Linked DNA regions of Homo sapiens: region 2 is linked to region 1. The links are contacts of gene promoters, found by promoter capture Hi-C in human tissues and cell types (Jung and others, 2019). All regions are on one chromosome and are shown on one strand. The core of a region is centred on a gene start or on the middle of the fragment in contact, and the rest is flanking DNA. Distances in the headings are between cores, read along the strand shown. Region 1 holds the start of LRRN3 (leucine rich repeat neuronal 3). Region 2 overlaps IMMP2L (inner mitochondrial membrane peptidase subunit 2).

What was found. The method cuts DNA at HindIII sites, captures the fragments that hold promoters and counts their contacts. A contact is called where the count stands out against the background at its distance.
Region 2: a fragment that was not itself captured here is called in contact with the fragment with the promoter of LRRN3 in region 1 in 1 of the 25 tissues and cell types used here (spleen).

Annotation. Positions count from the first base shown.
Region 1 is chr7:111,089,563-111,092,941 of GRCh38, forward strand. It overlaps LRRN3 (leucine rich repeat neuronal 3), which reads left to right and starts at 1,565. Exons shown (of 3, transcript NM_001099658.2): 1 at 1,565-1,942. The region is part of intron 3 of IMMP2L (inner mitochondrial membrane peptidase subunit 2); the gene reads right to left. The HindIII fragment of the contact is 6,407 bases long and covers 3-3,379 here.
Region 2 is chr7:110,937,602-110,940,678 of GRCh38, forward strand. The region is part of intron 4 of IMMP2L (inner mitochondrial membrane peptidase subunit 2); the gene reads right to left. Among named protein-coding and RNA genes, the nearest start is that of LRRN3, 150 kb to the right of the region's middle. The HindIII fragment of the contact is 5,017 bases long and covers 1-3,077 here.

The DNA of each region.
Region 1 (3,379 bases), core at 315-2,814:
AAGTACATTAAATTATATGTAAATATACTCTAACACAACATCCCAACACTCAACCATGATCCCTAACATACAGAACTGACTCAGTGCTTTCTGAGTAAATACTAGAGTATCCAGTAAATAATAAAACCTTACAATAATATTCTGAAATAAGTATTAGGTTAAATGAGATGCTACTTTTATCTTGAACTTATTTTGATTCATTTGAATAAATTCTTATAGAAAAAAACATTTGGGAACTGTTTCTAGAAAACTACAGAGTGAAAATATTCAGTATTTAAAGACAAGCCTACTGTTTAAAATTTTTCCTGGTATTATTATTATTATAATAACTGCAAACTATTGTTCTATGTCATGTCAATAAGCACTTAAGGAGCAATTAGATGTGAAGGTTTTGTTTTTTTTTTCCTAAGTAAATCTAATAAGTGCCATTTCTCTTTACTCCACTAGAGGGTAGTCTCTCAAAACTGGGGTTGGAGTCATGACTAGCCTGCTTTTGACCTGTTGATATATTAATCCTCATGTTCCATTCTCCTCAACAAGATGTTTCTCTAGTATACTAATTAAGGTTGTAAAACATGCATTTTTAAAACTGCTTTTTGATTTTTCATGTATGTTCTTTCAGAAATATGCACTGCTATGTGTTTCTGTGTTTTCCAAATTTCTGGTAATTAATAAAAATGTTTTACATGTATGGCTTATATAGTATATTTTCCTGGGAAATATCCTTTCAGAGTTAATAGGCCTAAGAATAAAGATAGTCTTTTAAATAATTTAACTTATTACAATCGAAATATTTCCCCAGAGTGGTAAAAAATACATCCTAAATACACACACACACTCACAGATACACAAACACACCTACACATGTACCCATTCATATGTAGCTCCTAGATTTATTACATCATATAAAGAGAAGTCAGTGAGTATAATTAGAAATACATATTTTTAAAAAGTACCCCCTCAAATGCCAATGTTGTGAATTACAGAGAGGCAAATATATGCTTTATTTTAAAAATCTGGTCAATCCAGACAAGAAATGTCATTGCTAAAAAAAAAAAAAAAAAAGTGTTATTGAACACCAAGCACATATGCTAAATTAAGTAGGATCTATAGAGAACCAAATGCCACTCAAAACAGTTGCAAGCTTCTCTTCTTAAATAATGCAGTCATTGCTGAACTTCAGAGACGGAGTTGGAGGTTTGAGTCTCTACCAGGTGTTTTTAATATTTAGGAAATCCTTATCAGTAGTGTGTCCTCTCTATTTGCAGACTGAAAACATATTTCTCTGAATGACTGATAACCTAAAATTGAGAAAACTTGTCAAAAATTCCCAACATTCCCTCAGAAAGGAAAAAAAAGAAGGAAAATGATACCTAGGAAAACATGCAAGCCTGTTTCATTTATTTGTATCCTAAGCAGCAGTGTCATAGAACAGACAGTTTGTTTCAGCCAACCAGACTGGAGCAGCTGCGAGTGCTACATCTTGGCTGTCTGAAGCGATTGGCTCCTCTCTGGGGAGTGGAGGGTGTTCAGTTATTAATGACCGCTGAGCAGGCAGCACCATGTCAGTGTGACAACTGATCGGGTGAACGATGCACCACTAACCACCATGGAAACAAGGAAAAATAAAGCCAGCTCACAGGATCTCTCTTCACTGGATTGAGAGCCTCAGCCTGCCGACTGAGAAAAAGAGTTCCAGGAAAAAGAAGGAATCCCGGCTGCAGCCTCCTGCCTTCCTTTATATTTTAAAATAGAGAGATAAGATTGCGTGCATGTGTGCATATCTATAGTATATATTTTGTACACTTTGTTACACAGACACACAAATGCACCTATTTATACCGGGCAAGAACACAACCATGTGATTATCTCAACCAAGGAACTGAGGAATCCAGCACGCAAGGACATCGGAGGTGGGCTAGCACTGAAACTGCTTTTCAAGGTAAGTTTAAAATACACATATATTTTAAAATACGTTCTATTTCTTGTCTCTTCGATGATCATGTTTTTACACCTAAATCCTCCTTTGATGTCTTCTTCTTGTCTGAATTCTAAGAGCATTTTTCTTTTATTGCACTTTTGAGAAGAAATTCACATGCAAAACCCAGCTGGCTCTGTGTGTGCCTAGCTGTGTTTGTGAGATTCTCCAACATGCATTTTACTAGCTTGAATGCCCATTAGAGGATGTGAGTGGGAGAGAAAAAGCAGTGTTGGGGGGAGGAGAAAAAGGAGGGAGACAGAAGAGAAGGGAACAGTGGGGGAGAAGAGAGGAGGAGAGGGAGAGAGAAGGAGATGGGGAAGAGAGAAGACAGAGAGGAGACAGAGAGGAGAGGAGAGTCACGGGTGATGGGGTGCAATTTTCCTTTTTCTTCACATTATTTGTAGTGAAAAGCAGATCACACATTATTCTCTGTTTTGAAATCAACCCACCAAATGGGGCATTTTTATTTTGTCTCATCCAGTGGATGCAAATTAAGGCAAATGCTGTTGTATGTTAAGAGCTAAACCACTAAGCAGAGTAGCAGAATGAGCATATCACAAACAGTTATTGAATTTCTGCCAGGCTACATCTTACGGACTGGGGTAAATGACTTCCCTTTAATAACATCCCCTCGCTGGTCTGAAGGGACAGTGCAAATGTCTGATTGCTAATGCAGCTGGAACTGCCACACACTAGGTGAAAGGATCCCATGAACCAGAAGAGTTCTAATCTTTGGTAATTAACAGGATCACAGCAGGATGGCTTTAAAGTACATTTCCTATTTAAGAAAATTGTTTGTTCTAACCAACTGCTATATTCCCTTTGCTGTTGTTGAGCTGGATGGCTTAATTCGGCTCTAATTTATTCATTTTTAACAATATGTCCTTGTTTCTCTGCCTCTAATTTCAGTGAAAGCAGGCTATGAATATGAGTAGAACCGTCCTAATTTAGTGAAAAGGGGATAATGTGAAAACAAAAATAGAAGTAAAGGTTCAAAATATCTACCTAGAAAATAGTGTGCTCTGGTACCATAAATATTACTGATATATTTCTCATCTTTAGTTTCAGAAGCAATGCCTTTGAGACAGAATTACTCTCAGTAAACTCTATGAGCATCCATGTATTGATGATTCATGGAATTCAGTGTGGGTTAATTTTTACTTCCAATCTTGTAAAGGGAAGCCAGCTACTTAGAATATGCTTTCAAACAGACAACACCAATTGAGGATATTCATGGAAACATTCACTGCCCTCTTTACTGGGTCCTGGAAAGACAGTAAAAGAAACCTAGCATTTGTATTTCATCTTCTGGAGCTCTCTCCTGCCTTCTTTTAGTTCAACTAACCACACAGTTAACAGAGTCAGCTTCTTTGAAACTGTGGGTTATTTTTTTCCACA
Region 2 (3,077 bases), core at 26-2,525, 150 kb before region 1:
AATATTTTATGGTTCAACCCCCATACAACTGGGAATAAGAATGGGAGTAGGAGAAAGGTCACTTTTTGACTCATTATACTTCGCAAAGCCAGCTAAGCTTGGCTTATACCACCAAGTTCTTGTTTGTGAAGATACAAAACCCATTTTATACCTTATACTATGTCCTGGCAGAAGAGGCATGTTATGCTTTCACAGTAGTATCTCAGCCTCTGCTGGATCTTCCTTCAGTGAATCTTGTCTCAGTTTCAACTGTGTTAAGAAGGATGCATACAAAGCCACTGCCAATTTCTACAAGAACTTCACATACACCAAGCAACAGAACTTCAAAGACTTACTGAAACATTTGAAAGTCATATGAAGTGGCCTCTGTTCCCTGAGTGGCCTTTTTTATCTCCTTGGTCCCCCTAACCCTATCTCTCTCCCATTCATGCTCCTCACACCTTCCTCCCAGGCCTCATTCTAAGTTCCTCTCCCAGTATGCATATCAGTTCAGCTCTTCCTGGCTTCCAAACTCCCAATTTTCGTGTTATCGTCTGTCAGGTACATGGCAAAACAACTTAATAGGATCTACCATCCTTAAAAGGCAGTCAGGGTTATCAATAAATGATTCAATACACATTTATGGCATACTAATCTGTGTTCAGCATTATGTTAGATTCTAGTAGGGAGGGAGGGGTATCAAACAATGTCCGCAAATGCCTCCTGGCTGAGAAATTCAGTCTAGTTGGGAGGCAAGTATTTCATAATAAAAGCCATACAGCTAAGGGATACATAAAAGTAGAGCTGAGGCCTCAAGAGGGATGGTGGAAAAAGTGCAGTGTGACAGCATTTTCTGAGCTAGACTGGACAGGAAACACATTTCTTTACTGAAAATATGTTTCCAATAACTACCCTTTCTCCAAATGAAACAACAAGAAATCCAAACATACCCTCCAAAACTATTCATCTATGTATGCCACTACAGCTTATGCATTTGAATAAGGTAAGCACTGACGGAGTTTCTGATTAAAAAGATAACTGATCTTGTGCACAATATTCAATATTTGGGCGATGGGTACAGTAAAAGCCCAGACTTCACTGCCATGCAATATATCCATGTAACAAAACTGCACTTTTACCCCCTAAATCTACAAAACAATACAAAAATAGTTGCTCTTTTTTTAATGGTCACCTAAGGGGAAGAATATCGTTAAATGTAATATGCAGTTCCTACCAGAAGATGAGATAGCAGGGAGTGAGATAGAATGAAGATATTAATGTTGGATCCTTTTATATGCAAATAATTTTTCTTGACTCTATCATGAAGTTTGAATATACCAAAAATTTAAGCTTCTAATAGTACAGATTCTGCAACTGACTTCCGGACCACTTCACATATGAACATACAAATGACAGGCAGACTCTATTTGCCACTGAGAAGCTAAGTTTACATTGCTAAATCCTCTAAAGCAGAAAATAGAGCTCCCAAAGCTGACTTCTAAAGGTAGAAGAAAGTATAGAGAAGTAGTTTTCAACCATGGTTATATATGAGAGTTACCTGGAGAGTTTTTAGAATGCCTGATCCTAGGGCATCACCCCTGGGATTCTGATTTAACTGGTCTGAAATGGGACCAAGACTTTTTGTGTCCCAGGGAAGCTTTTACAAATTACCGATCCCTGGGCTGCATTCCTGGGTGTTTCCAATTAAGTTGTTCTGAAGTGACTTCCAGAAATCTGTGTTTTTCAGTGTCCCAAGAGCTTCCATGTTTGGCCAGATTTTTAAAACCATTGATCTAATGCAAAATTGCAAAAAAAAAAAAAAAAATCAGTTGTTTCTAAAATTGTAAAGCGAGTACACAGGGAATAAAAAAAAAAGTAATAAGATTTTTTGTGCTGTGGCACGAAGTCTGTTCTACGGCCCCAACTACTTCACAATTTCCTGGGTCACCTGTAAAGTTAGTGTTGACAACAGCATGAAGCACTGAATGAAGCTCCCCTTCCTGAACCTTCATCCCTAGGAAGGTAAGCCAAATGACTTTTACTGTCTCCCTGTTTATGGAAGATAACAAATATATGTCCTTTAGAAAAGCATGCCTATAATTAAGCAGTCATCTAGGCTGGCAGTAGGGTACAGCTCAGTGACTATCTTTAAACAAAATGTGGGTATCTCGCTGTATTCATTGCATCAACAATAGAACATAGCAGGCTGTTAGAAAAGCTCCCAAGTGCAGCAAAAGAGGGCTTACACAGAAAAGACTGTTGAAGTTCTGACACAGCAAAAGAAGGGAACCCAATGCTATATTTTGCTAAAAGGTAAAACACATTCTGACATTATATACTCATGTGGGCAAAACAGTAGTACTACATTACTACACCATTGACTGAGAGAGTCTCCTTATCTGGAAATAAGGGAGATCTAATTCCAGAGATATCACAGTGGGATAACCATTTAAAAAGTTAAAATAATGTGGCTCATTCCTGTAATCCCAGCACTTTGGGAGGCCGAGGTGGGAGGATCATGAGGTCAGGAGTTTCAGACCAGCCTGGCCAACATAGTGAAACCCCGTCCCTACTAAAAATACAAAAAAATTAGCCAGGCATGGTGGCAGGTGCCTGTAATCCTAGCTTATTGGGAGGGTGAGGCAGGAGAATTGCTTGAACCTGGGAGTTGGAGCTTGCAGTGAGCCAAGATTGCACCACTGCACTCCAGCCTGGGCAACAGAGCTAGACTCCATCTCAAAAAAAAAAAAAAAGTTAAAATAAACATTTATATAACAACATAGACAAATAAAAACAATTCCAAATATGCATATTTGATGGTTATTCATTAGTAATCAAAAAATTATAAAATCTCAGAAATAGAAAGGATCTTCAGAGATCTCATTCAGCCACTCAGCCACCCAACAGAATGAAGGATAACTGCACTGAAGTTTATAGATTTCCAATAAGCATTGGCACATCAAGATAGACTAAGGGTTAAGGGATCTGAGTTTTACTTCATTAGGCAGCTATGGAAACTTGGGAAGTCACATAATTTTTCAGGCCTTAATCTCCTCATCTATAACGTGAGTGCGAATGAACTGAACTCAGCTTTGATG